4 separate regions of the Homo sapiens genome follow, and all the other regions are linked to region 1. Evidence: promoter capture Hi-C in 16 types of primary human blood cells and fetal thymus (Javierre and others, 2016). All regions are on one chromosome and are shown on one strand. Each heading gives the region's core, a stretch centred on a gene start or on the middle of the fragment in contact. The rest is flanking DNA. Distances are from core to core; before and after follow the strand shown.

The links. Contacts are between HindIII fragments. The CHiCAGO score rates a contact against its expected background, and 5 or more counts as called.
Region 2: a contact is called between a fragment that was not itself captured here and the fragment with the promoter of PSMC5 in region 1, in 5 of 17 cell types (neutrophils, naive CD4 T cells, total CD8 T cells and 2 more). The highest score is 6.2, in neutrophils.
Region 3: a contact is called between the fragment with the promoter of PRR29 here and the fragment with the promoter of PSMC5 in region 1, in 6 of 17 cell types (naive CD4 T cells, activated CD4 T cells, M1 macrophages and 3 more). The highest score is 7.3, in naive CD4 T cells.
Region 4: a contact is called between a fragment that was not itself captured here and the fragment with the promoter of PSMC5 in region 1, in 8 of 17 cell types (naive B cells, naive CD4 T cells, neutrophils and 5 more). The highest score is 7.7, in naive B cells.

The regions. Positions count from the first base shown.
Region 1 is chr17:63,826,037-63,828,971 of GRCh38, forward strand. PSMC5 (proteasome 26S subunit, ATPase 5) reads left to right here and starts at 1,395. Exons shown (of 12, transcript NM_002805.6): 1 at 1,395-1,478; 2 at 2,102-2,173. The coding sequence starts at 1,455. It overlaps FTSJ3 (FtsJ RNA 2'-O-methyltransferase 3), which reads right to left and starts at 1,627. Exons shown (of 21, transcript NM_017647.4): 1 at 1,016-1,627; 2 at 800-892; 3 at 531-636; 4 at 222-268; 5 at 20-99. The coding sequence starts at 866. RefSeq lists enhancers at 740-1,939, 1,076-1,355, 1,736-1,785. The HindIII fragment of the contact is 8,506 bases long and covers 1-2,935 here.
Region 2 is chr17:63,635,350-63,638,284 of GRCh38, forward strand. The region is part of intron 2 of MAP3K3 (mitogen-activated protein kinase kinase kinase 3); the gene reads left to right. It also overlaps the pseudogene EEF1DP7. Among named protein-coding and RNA genes, the nearest start is that of MAP3K3, 14 kb to the left of the region's middle. The HindIII fragment of the contact is 1,408 bases long and covers 861-2,268 here.
Region 3 is chr17:63,996,781-63,999,715 of GRCh38, forward strand. It overlaps PRR29 (proline rich 29), which reads left to right and starts at 1,571. Exons shown (of 6, transcript NM_001164257.2): 1 at 1,571-1,644; 2 at 1,927-2,002; 3 at 2,188-2,294. The coding sequence starts at 1,585. It overlaps PRR29-AS1 (PRR29 antisense RNA 1), which reads right to left. Exons shown (of 3, transcript NR_126169.1): 1 at 1,545-2,935; 2 at 985-1,142; 3 at 1-483. RefSeq lists a silencer at 1,454-1,503 and an enhancer at 1,757-2,734. The HindIII fragment of the contact is 13,369 bases long and covers 1-2,935 here.
Region 4 is chr17:63,678,395-63,681,329 of GRCh38, forward strand. The region is part of intron 6 of MAP3K3 (mitogen-activated protein kinase kinase kinase 3); the gene reads left to right. Among named protein-coding and RNA genes, the nearest start is that of LIMD2, 20 kb to the right of the region's middle. The HindIII fragment of the contact is 1,353 bases long and covers 688-2,040 here.

The DNA of each region.
Region 1 (2,935 bases), core at 145-2,644:
AGAGAGAGACTCCTATTACCTGCCTACAACGTTCTGTTGTGATGTCCTGCTGGAGAGTCACCACATTGGGGAGAGGCTTGATTGGAACCAGGTCCACTCCTGGAAGAAATCAGGTCAGAGTATTCTAAAAGGTTGCTTCAAGCAGGGAGGAGAGAAATACAGGACAAAATACCTTATACACCCACCCCTTAAAACACCAAGGAGAGCTGTCCGTTACTCACCCACAATAAGGCTGGATACAGGCATAAACTTGGCAGCTACCTGCAGCCTATAAAAGGAACAGAAATTTAAAAACCTAGAGCCATCCTTTTCCCCCTCTTGGCAACTGATCTCTCATCCCTGGTGTTACGTGTACTGGCCAAAGCATATCATAGGCACGTATTCCAAGCCCTTTCTCTGCAATCAAGAAAGGAAACGGCCCCCAAGAGGACCGGGATTCGGGTTCCCCTCCCGCAGTGAAACTGGAAGCCATCCCAGCTCAGAACCCAGAAAGCGGCCACCAGGAGCAACCTGTGGCGAGTGTTACGAACCATCCCCCTGGCGCAGCACACAGGTCCAGCAAGGCTCGGGCTTTCTGCAGGAACTGAAAGCGGCGATTGAGCTGGATCAGCTTGAAAGCAGATCGGGAACGGTAACCTGGACAAAACAACCAAGTGCGCAAACTGCTTCACTAGTAGGATTTCTCCGGCCTCGCAACCGACCACCCCTTCTGCAGGAGAGGTACATAATGGTCGCAAAGAGCAGGCGAACCGGGCAGAGATCGCTCGCTCGCTCGCAGACTGAGCGAATCCGGACTCACCCGTCTCCTTCGCCAAGTGATAAAACTTGTCTCGTCGGCTCTTGCCAACTTTGCCCTTCTTGCCCATGGTGGAAAGGGGGAGTATCCCTCAATCTGGGGAGAAAGTAGAAGTTGGGAACGTCTCTTTCCGGAGCACCAGATTCCACTTCCAGTTTCCCACTTCCAGTTTCCCACTTCCCGCAGCAATTCCACCCCGCGCCCCTCTCCGCACACTACCTAGACCCAGAGCCGCTTTCTCCACACTTGGAACCGCACAAGTATGCAGCTAACTACTTCCGCTTCCGCTTGCGTCCCCTGCGTCCCTGGCTCGAGGTTTTCCGCCATTTTGAGTGTGGCCCTAGATTGTTCTCAATACTCTGTCCTTGGGTTTTGTAAGTTGAAAGTTGAGACTAGGAAGGCATATCACAAGAACTATAAACAGAGTTTCAATGAGGCAACACTGAGGAGGAGTTCTACTCCTTCCTCATCCCCTTCCAAAGCCCCTGAACTCGAGTAGCCGCCCCTCCCATCATGGTTCCCTTAGTGTGGTCTCGCCGCACACCCCGCCCATTGACCCGGAATTCTTCTCTGCCTGGTCTTCAGGTCCCAATCCTCCGCTTCCGCGCTTGCGCGCCAAGACGGCTCGGATGCCGGCGGTCTCTGCTGAAGAGAGAAGATGGCGCTTGACGGACCAGAGCAGGTATGGCGGGTGCAGTGGCGGCCCGGCAGGTTACGGGGCTGGGTGCGGAGCGAGCGTGATCTGAGTGGAGAGCGGGCCGGGGCAGGAGCGTCGGGTGGGTCGGAGGTGCCTGGACCAGTCCATGCTGGACGCTGCCTGCGACCGGATCTGCTGTGTCAGCGCCGCCCTCGGTGAGTCAGGGCAAGGCTGGGAGAGGAAGACGCGGTAGAAGCGGAGTGAGTGAGGGAAGCGATGGGCGCGGGAATGGCCGGCCCACGGGTCGCAGGAGACGGGACGCCAGTCCTTTGGCTCCGTTCCGCTGGCTCCTTCGTCAGTACTGACACCTCGGGCTTGTAGAGCACTTCACGCAGTGCAAAGCGCCCCCCGTCTATATCATATCGCCTCTCGGTCCTCCTAAAAGTCGTATGAGGTAGGCGGCGTTCCCATTCTTTTATTTTAGTCCTGGGAAAATGGAGGGTTCCAAGGGAGGGAGGGATTAGAACCCAGATCCTGAGCCTCCGAAGTCCAAACTTTTTCTACTACGCAAAGCTACCTGGTGTCAAGCCTTATTCAAAGTGCCCTGCAAGTGGCTTTACCCCCTCGGATGTTTAACCTGTCGTTTAAGACTCACTCTGTGTCTTCAGATGGAGCTGGAGGAGGGGAAGGCAGGCAGCGGACTCCGCCAATATTATCTGTCCAAGATTGAAGAACTCCAGGTGAGGACGGACTCCAGAGGGAGCTAGGAAGGGTGATGATGGGGGATGGAAACGGACTTCCACAAATCCATCTAATTCCTTTGGGAGTGCAGTGGAAGAAGCTGCTGCTTCTCCTTTCTTGTTTGTTTCTTAGCTAGTAGGGTGTATGTATCAGAAGTAAGCAATCTCTTGTTCTCCTCCAGTCCCATCTCTTTGAGGGTCTTAGTGTTCACAGTTTGTTACACATCTTCGAGTCAAATCTTAATAGTAAAGGTACCTCTAGCCAAAGGTCAACCCTTTTGGAAGAAGCCCGAATGAAAAGGATTCTTATAAAAGGGAAACATAAGCTCAGGAGTTGAAATTTATCACCAAGAGGTTGGGTGAGGGTGAAGTGAGAATGTGAGGAAGGGCATCATTGAGGGATCTGGACAATGCTAATTCCATAGAGACTGAATGAAAGAAATTGGGCAACCCAGAGCCCTAGCCTAAAGCGCTAAACCATAGAAAAAGGACCGTTTATGTTGTTAATCAAATGTTTGTGTTACCAGTAAGGCTTCCAGCAGTAAGGTATGGCTTCCAGTAGTAAGCCTTACAGACAACATAAACAGTAGTCTGTTAGTGTTACGTTATACTGTTACGGTAGGCTGTTAGTAGTTTAACTTTGGACAGGTCCATGGATTTTCAATTTCACCCTAACCCCCTGCGTTGTTCAAGTGTCAACTGTAATATAAATTGGATGGGGGAAAGCCACAAAAGACAATTCTGAATTCCAAGTGCATTTGC
Region 2 (2,935 bases), core at 315-2,814, 190 kb before region 1:
ATGTGAAGATGTGGAACTAGAACAGCTGTTTAGAAATTGAAGCTCAAAGTTTTATGTTAATATGGGCAAAAGGGGAAATAAAATGCTAAGATAGCTTTTCCTCTTAATGAAGTCAAGGTTATAGAATGGCCTGTCCTGGGAAGTGTAGCAGATGTTTTGCTTCTGACCAAGAGGGATATTCTTCAGCAAAATTCTGAAAGCAGAAAAAGACAAAGTCTCAGCAAATGCATTTCTAGGAAAGATAGGGTAAGAGGTAGTGCGGGGAAGATGTTGGGGAGAGGTATTTATAGCCTAGTATAATGAAAGGAGCCTGGTGATATTAATAATCATTTAACATCGGATTTTATAATTCACAGAGTTACACATTTATTATTATTATTGTAGTTTTTGTTAGCCTAGGCCTGAGATAGAATGAAACAGTTTTCTTCATTACCAGTTCTTCTGCCAGAAAGTCCATGCTTAGGAAGAGAGAGGAATGAAAGATCAAAACCTAATTTAAATGGTGAAGAGTTGCCAAATTTGGTTAAGAAATGTCTAATTGGATTACAGATTCAAATTACAGAGTCCCAGTTGAAAGAAGCTAAGCATTTTGGCTAGCTGGAAAGGTTGTTTATTCAAGGGTGGAATGGGGCTGGCAGAGGCAAACAGCCTTTCACTATGAGAATGGCAGTGCTGGCTACAAGGCAGAGTCGAGACTGGCACAGCTTCATGGAGCTCAAGCTTGGCCCAGCAAGGAAAGCCAGAGGAGCTGTGGGTTCATTAACAGGATTGTTTGGGTGCCGAGGCCTGGAAGAACTGAAAAATCTAATTTAATATCTCTGCTTAGCAAGACTTGAGACATCCTTTTCCCTAAGTAAACAAGCTTGGTAAGTAATTGAAAAAGAGAATGGATTTGAGAACAAATAGGCAGCTATGGAAGTACATGGGCAGTGAGCTATTAACAATTTTCTAGGAGGTAGATTCTGTATTCTCTGTATTCTAGGAGTACAGAGAATACTGTACACTAGGAGCATTTGCTGTATTCTCCCTTTTGTATATTGGGTCTCTGGAAGCCTACAGCGTGGTTAGAGCTGACTGAATATTCTTAGATGTGTGGCACATCCTACGTGTGGCTGGGTCCTATGGATAGTTTTGCAGGCCATGATGTGCAGTGTCCCTTTAGCAGTCATTAACTCACAGTGAGTTATCAATGGGTGTTAGTTCTCTGTGGGTCTGACAACTTAGTATAGTGAAAAGAGTGCTGGCCTGTGGCTGAACATGCTGGAGAAGAGCTTGCCTGGCCACAGGGACACAGCCACGCAGATCCAGCATGTGTCTCCCATGTGCCAAGTGGAGCCCCCAGCCAAGAAGGCAGCCACACTAGCAGAGGGTGACAAGGACAATGACATTGACCTGTTTGTCAGCGACAATGAGGAGGAAGACAAGGAGGCAGCCCGGCTGTGGGAGAAGTGGCTGAGGTGGTATGTGGAGAAGAAGGCCAAGAAGACTGCGTTGGTGGTCAAGTCCTCCATCCCGCTGGACATCAAGCCTTGGGACAATGAGACCAATATAGCCCAATTGGAGGCCTGTATGCGCTTCATCCAGCTGGACGGGCTGGTCTAGGGGGGCCTCCAAGCTGGTGCCCATGGGCTACGGTATCCGGAAGCTGCAGATTCAGTGTGTGGTGGGGGACGACAAGGTGGGGACAAACTTTCTGGAAGAGGAGATTACCAAGTTTGAGAGCGTGTGTAGAGTGTCGATGTTGCAGCTTTCAACAAGGTCTGAAGCCTTAGAGTGTGTGTGCGTGCATGCGCACGTGTGCAAGTGTGTGAGGCCCTGCCACTATTAAAAACTGAGACCAACCAAAAAAAAAAAAAAAAAAAGAGTACTGGCCTAGGAGTCATAGAGTTGTTACTCATCTATTAATGTAGGATTTTATAATTTATAGAGTGCTTTCAACAACAGTTAACATCAATGCTATAAGCATGTGTATAAGGTTTACACAGCTTTTACACAAAGGTATTGAGTAGAGGCAGGAAGTAAATCCAAGCCTTCTGATTCCTAGTCACCGTAATTTTACCATGTATAAGTCATATAACCTTTCTGAAGTGAGTTTTTCCATCTGAAATATAGACTTAATACTCACTGTGTCTACCTCTTAAGATTGTTGTAAGATCATAGACAGAATGTGAAATATTTTGTACATTGTAAAACAAATGTACAAATGTGAAGTTGCAGTGGTTATGTCACTTCTTATGTTCTGGCACTGCAGGTGTGAGCTTTGGGGAAAGCTTCTAACTACAACTGTCCATAGTGTTGTGGAACTGAAAGGATTAAGGTTTTTCTCTCTTTATGGGATTATCATTACTGTTTATCTGATGATCTTTGCAAATTTCTGAAGCTAGCCTAATTTCTGAAAATCCCAGTGGAGGAAGAAATGGAATCCTTATTTCCATGGATTCCTGTTTCCCTTGAATCTTATCAAAATGGTAGGTAGATACTTGAACAGAGTCTGGGCTCTGGATCTAACCCTCCAGATGTTCATGAGTGGGTGCTTCAGAACAGAAAAGCTGCTTTCTTCATGATAGGCACAAGCAGGGCAGGGCCTTGGCTATCATTTCTAGAGGAAGAGAATTCCAGGATCTGTTCCCCCAGCAGGGTCAGTGATTGAGCAGACTGTCTTTTGCTTTCAGTGTGAAAGACCTGGCTCTTCAGGACCTCCCTTCTCTTTCAAGGGTTGTTGATAAGATGGGCTGGCCAGTTTGAAAATAAGATATAAAACAACACACAAGCCTGGCATTATATTTTGTAAGAAGATTGCTTTATAATCGTCTCTTCCACTGATCTCCTACAACTTTCCAGAGTCATGCTTAAAAATAAAATTTTAATTTTTGTTGTATTTTTTTTTCCTTTCATTCACTTACTCTCTTTGGCAAAATAAGGACTGCAATTCCAG
Region 3 (2,935 bases), core at 321-2,820, 170 kb after region 1:
TTTGCTTGAAACCCACTGATAGCTCTCCATTACCCACAGGGCCAAGCCTAAATTCCAAACCTTGGCATTCCAAACCTTGGCCTGTCCCTGGACCTCTGCTCTCTGCCCAGCTCCTCTTCTACAGTCAGACAGTTTGACCCACCGGGTCATCTCAGGTCCTGTCCATTCATACACCTGGGTCTTGGCTTGGGCTCTGTCCCCAGCCTGATAGCGCCCGTCTTCCCCTGCTGCTTGGCCCCATCAAGGACTGACTTCCTTGGAACTCCATCCCTCAGCGGTCAAGTCCTCTCTTTTTCATTATCCCCGGGGCGTAGTCTTATCTTTCTGCTCTCTTTCCATGGATACATTTTCACTTCCCAACAATGCTGGGACAAGTGACCATACTGCTTATGCCTCCAGGGTTCAGATGGCACATTGCACACGCAGACACTTCCTTGGTCAAGGTTTGTTGATGATGAGCAAAATGGCTTGTTCTCTTTCTACCTGGAATGAGAATGGAGATGGAGAGAGGCATCTCTGTGTTCTACTCACTGGGGGGCTGTGACCCCAGTGCCTGGATCTCAGCTTGTTAATGGCTGTTGAAGCCATAAGACCCATGGGGACAGTAAAGTAATGCCCACAAGCCTGCTCCCCTAGAGACAGGTACTACGGAGCAAAGGAGGAGGTGGGAATGGTCTTTCTGGTTCTTACTCCAGGACTGGCAGGAAGGGGAGCTGACATGGAGAGTGGGGGAAGGGCTACTCGGGGTGCTAAGCCCAGCTTCCTGTCTGGATTTTCCTTGACTGCTGCCGGGGGCCTATCTTAGGATGGTCACAGCTGCAGAAATAGATCTCCCCCTTCACCTGTTCTTAAGCAAGGAAGACCTTGCTAACTTCCTGTCAAAAGAACGCGTGCTTTGGTAACTTTTCCAGTACGGGAGACAGTACTGGGGACGCGGGTGCTGAAGTCACCACGATTTTCCTCGTCTGAGGAGCAGTGGCTCACCTTGGCCAGGAAACAGGGCAAATAGCCGCAAGGAGAGAGGCGAGAAGCCGGCCACGTGTTTCCAGCCAGAGTCCTCAGCCTCTTCCGTGAATTCGGGCGGTGTTTCCTTCCTTGGTCTGCTCCAGAAACCACTCTTTCCTGGCAGGAAGCCCCTCTCTCTGTCAGAGTGACAGGGAACAGACCCTTTGTCCTCCTCACTCGTCTGCCCTAGCCCCCAGCCTGCTCCTGCAAAAGTCTCTGTTTCTCCTGAACTTTTCAGCTGAGTCAATCGGGCTCTGGGACCCCGAAACCAAGCCTCCCCAGTCACTCGCTTATTCACTCAACAAACACACCCCCCTTCCCCGCACTAACCCAGGCCCAGTTCTGGGAACCAGCAAGGGGAGGGGAGGGGAGCCCCGAGCAGCGCGGCGGGAGGTGGACATGCCGGGGAGGAGACTGGCCTCCTGGTGGCGGGGGAGGGCTCCTGGGGACCCCAAGTCCGCGGAGGAGGAGACAGGAGGGAGCAGGGAGATGGAAGACCCAGGAGCACGGGCGGGCTCCGCGCATGCGTGGGAAGAGACCTTGGCGTCCTCGGCGTCGCCAAGGCAACCGGCGCCAGCCATGGCCTCTGGGGCGGGCGGAAGCTGGGGTCGCTCCCCACCGCAGAGCGCAGTCCCGACGGTGAGGGCTGAGCCCGGGAGCAGATCCTGCCTTAGCTTGGGAGACGGCAGAGTGGGGAGCTGTCCCTGGAGGGGCCAGATCCTGGAGGGGTGGGGGACGAGGAGAGACAGCCCCAAACCGAGAGGAAGAGGCGTGGCAGGGAGCAGGGAGGCCGCGGGGCGGGGAGGAGAGAACCTGGCCCCTGCGGGGTTAGGGAGGCCACTGGCCGGGGGGGTTGGGGCTCGCGACGTGTCCCCATCCATTCCCCCCACCCCACCTGGCTGACTCCGCGCACACCCCCAGCCCTGGGTCACCTTCCTGCAGCCCCTCTCGTGGGCCGTCCCACCTGCGCCCCCGCAGCCAGGCCGCGTGAAGGAAGGTGAGACTCCCGGGTCCCCCCACCCCACCCCCACCATCACCACCACTCACCCTCTTCTGCCTCGCACATCCTCTGGGAGTCCCCGCAGCACAACCCGCCAACCCATTCTTCACCCCCGGGACAGGGGTGTCAGGGGGAGGGGGACTCGGAGGCCCGGCGTGGGCTTGCTGAACCCCGCTTCCTAGACCTGCTGGAACTGATGATGCTGCAGAACGCGCAGATGCACCAGCTGCTGCTGAGTCGCCTGGTGGCTGGAGCGCTGCAGCCCCGGCCTGCCTCGCCCTGCCCTCAGGTGCGTGTGGGTGGGCCGCCGGGGTCGCTCACCTGTGGGTCCAGGGATGCGGATCCACCTGGGGTTCCTGTTCAGGGGGGAAAAGAACTGGGAGACAGAGGAGCAGGAAGCCAGCCCGTCTCTCTGGCTGGGGCTGTTTGGCATCTGTCATGTTTCAGCCTCCATGAAAGGTTGGGGCGGGGAAGAGACCCCCCAAAGTCCAGACCACCGAGGTCTTGTTTTCAAGGAGGTTTCCCTGTAGTGCCTCCCCCACTGGACTTAAGGCTCCAGGAAGGTAGGCACCCTGGTAACCCTGCCCCATGCATCATGAGCGTCTGGCCTGGTGCCTGACACCGTGTAGGGGCTCAGCTGATATTTGTTGAACGAGTGAATGAATAAATGAATGGTTAGGGATACAAAGCCAGGTTGGCTGTGATGGCACATGGAGAGGTACAAAGCACAAGTGCACATAGGGTTGGGGGATGGGGACAGGCTCCTTGGAGGAGCAGAGGATCTTAGAACCAGCCCTTGAAAGCCAGGTAGGATTTTGACCCTTGGAGGAGGCGAAGGGTGTGTCCCCCATCCAGGCTGGCAGGGGCAGAGTCAGGAGACAGAATGGGGGAAACCGTGTGCGGCAGTGTGTGTGTGCAAGAGTGTGTGTG
Region 4 (2,935 bases), core at 114-2,613, 150 kb before region 1:
GCAAAGGCATGGCTCAGATACCACTTTATCTCAGAATTGGTGGCCTCTACCCTGTGAGTGAGATGTTGAGACAGGAAATCCAGCAAAATTCTATGCCTGTTTTCAGAGCAATTTTGTTTCTGGCCTTTGCTCTGGAGTCAGGTGGGGAGGCCAGATTACTGAGGACCCCATGTTAGCTTTCCTGCCAGAGAGACATCCTTGGAGGGAGGCTGGGGTGATGTGTCCAAGAAGAGATTGGAAGTATTCTCCAATACCAGTTCAGTGGTGAATTCTCAAAATGTATTCAGCACAACCACATGAACCATATGTTCTGAACAACTGACTTAATATAGAAGAATTAAAGAGTCAGTTTCAACTGGGTGCAGTGGCTGACGCCTGTAATCCCAGCACTTTGGGAGGCTGAGACAGGCAGATCACCTGAAGACAAGAGTTCAAGACCAGCCTGGCCAACATGGTGAAACCCTGTCTCTACTAAAAATATAAGAATTAGCTGGGTATGGTGACGGCCACCTGTAATCCCAGCTATTCAGGAGGCTGAGGCAGAAAATTGCTTGAACCCAGGAGGCGGAGGTTGCCTTGAGCCAAGATTGTACCACTGCACTCCAGCCTGGGCAACAGAGCAAGACTCCGTCTCAAAAAAAAGAGTCAGTGTCAGTTTCTTAAAGGTCATTGAAAAACAATAGTTTAAGCTTCTTAGAAAATGTCTTTCAAAAAGCAACCCTCTGGCCAGGCATGGGGGCCCATGCCTTTAATCCCAGCACTTTGGGAGGCCAAGGCTTGAGACCAGCCTAGGCAACATAGCGAGACCCTGTTCCTAAAAGTGCACACACACACACAGAGCAAGCCTCCCCGCCATTCTTTTTTTCCATTAAGTATTTTTCTTCCTTCTGAGGGTCTTTGAAATAGTGGGAGTCTCTCTGGCTCAGGGAGTTTGTTGAGCTCCATCAGTCTGTCAGGCCCACCCTCTTTTCCGGGATGTTCTAAGACCCTGGACTGGGCTCTTGAGCACCCTCTGCTGTAGATGCTTAGTCCCTGGTGCACTACCTCTACTTCCAGGTACAGGCTGAGTGCTCCTGGCTCCACATGAGCTTTGTTGTTTTGTCTATGAGACAGGGTCGCACTCTATCACCTATGCTGGAGTGCAGTGGTCCAAACACGGCTCACTGCGGCCTCAACCTCCCAGGCTCAAGCAGTCCTCCTGTCTCAGTCTTCCAAGTAGCTGGGTCCACAAGTGTGCGCCTGGCTAATTTTTAAAATATTTTTTGTAGAGATGGGGTCTCACCATGTTGCCCATGCTGGTCTCAAACTCCTGGCCTCAAGCATTTCTCCTGCCTCTCGAAGTGTCGGGATAATAGGTGTGAGCCACTGCACCTGGCCACACATGAGTTTTTGAGCAATAGGAAATATATATACATATATGTATAAACATGTATACACACACACATACATAAAACTAAAACTGTGTATCTCAGATTTTCCATCTAAAACTGGTCTGGACTAGGGATCTATCATCAAGAAAGGAGAGAAGCCAGGCATGGTGGCACCTGCCTGTAGCTGAAGGGGGAGGATTGCCTGAGCCCAGGAGCTCAAGACTAGCCTGGGCAACAGAGTGAGACCCTGTCTCTGAAACAAAACAAAACAACAAAACAGAATAGAATGAGTCAGGTACTTCCCTAGGTCTCCAGCTACCAAACTTGGTCTCTCTTGCTTCCTTAGCCATTTCCACAGAGCATCTTGCCTGCAGTTCCATTTCAGAAAACCTAGTGCTACAGCCCCTGAACTAGACTGGAGAAACCAGCCAGCAAGGAAAGTAACCTGCATTGTTGAGGGATGGTACTACTCTATTCCTGGTGTCTGGGAATTGCTGGGTCGTGGGAGAGAGGTAAGGGGTGGTAGATAAGGGAATGGAGGGCTCTTGTGTCTCTGGTTTTCTAAACAACAGGATAAATTTGTTCCCTTCAGAACAGGAAAAGGGTTCAGGATAAGAGTCTTACGTTTAAGTTTTGAAGCTACAAGAAATATTTGTGTGGGTATAGTTAAAGCTTTTTTTAAACCTTCTGAAAATTGGCTCTTCTGGTTTGGTGAGCTTAGGAAGGAAAAAAGATGCAAACTTTTGGCCTCATTTTTGTCTTCTCTGATCATGGAAAGCAACACAGCCAGTCAGAAAAAGCTCTTGGGCTAGGAGGAAGGAGGACCTGATTTCTCGGACTCAAAATCCCTTATGGCAGAAAAACATTGCTCAGTGACTTACAAAGTGTGTCATTTGTAAGACTGCACACCTCTGTCATTCACTAACATTAGGATGATAAACCATTTCATCTTACAAGCTGATGTGGTGAAAGTACCTGTTAATTGGTTTTATAGTCTCTTATCTGTAAAACATAAATAATTGTTTTTGGGTGTTTTGGGTTTTTTTTTTTTTTAAGATTTAAGTTCCTTGAGTCTCCGTCTCCTCCTCTGTTAAGTAAAGCAAATGCTTACCTCTCAGGATTGTTGAAAGGATTAAGTGAAGTAACAAATGTAAAAATACCTTGTGGAATGATTGCCACTTAGCAGCCACTCAAAAAATATTTGCCAAACCTCTGTTGTAGAGATGTTGAAAATCAAATGAGGTTAATTACTGTGAATGTGTAACAAAAAGTAAAGCACCACATAAATGCAAGATAATATCATTACTCAGACCAACCTGAGCAACATAGTGAGACCCTGTCTCAATTTAAAAAAAAAAAAAAAAAAGGTAATATCATTACTCATAAGCCAGGAAGTGTGGGAGTGGGTAGGAATGGAGAAGCCTGCCTTTTGATCCTGGCCAGACCATCACGAAGGCCTTTTTACCTGATACAAGTAGAGAACAAATAAGGGGAGACACTGGCTGGGGGAACAGGGCAACAGAGAGAGATGCACAGGTATATTCAGTTACCTTTCCCTGGTCCCC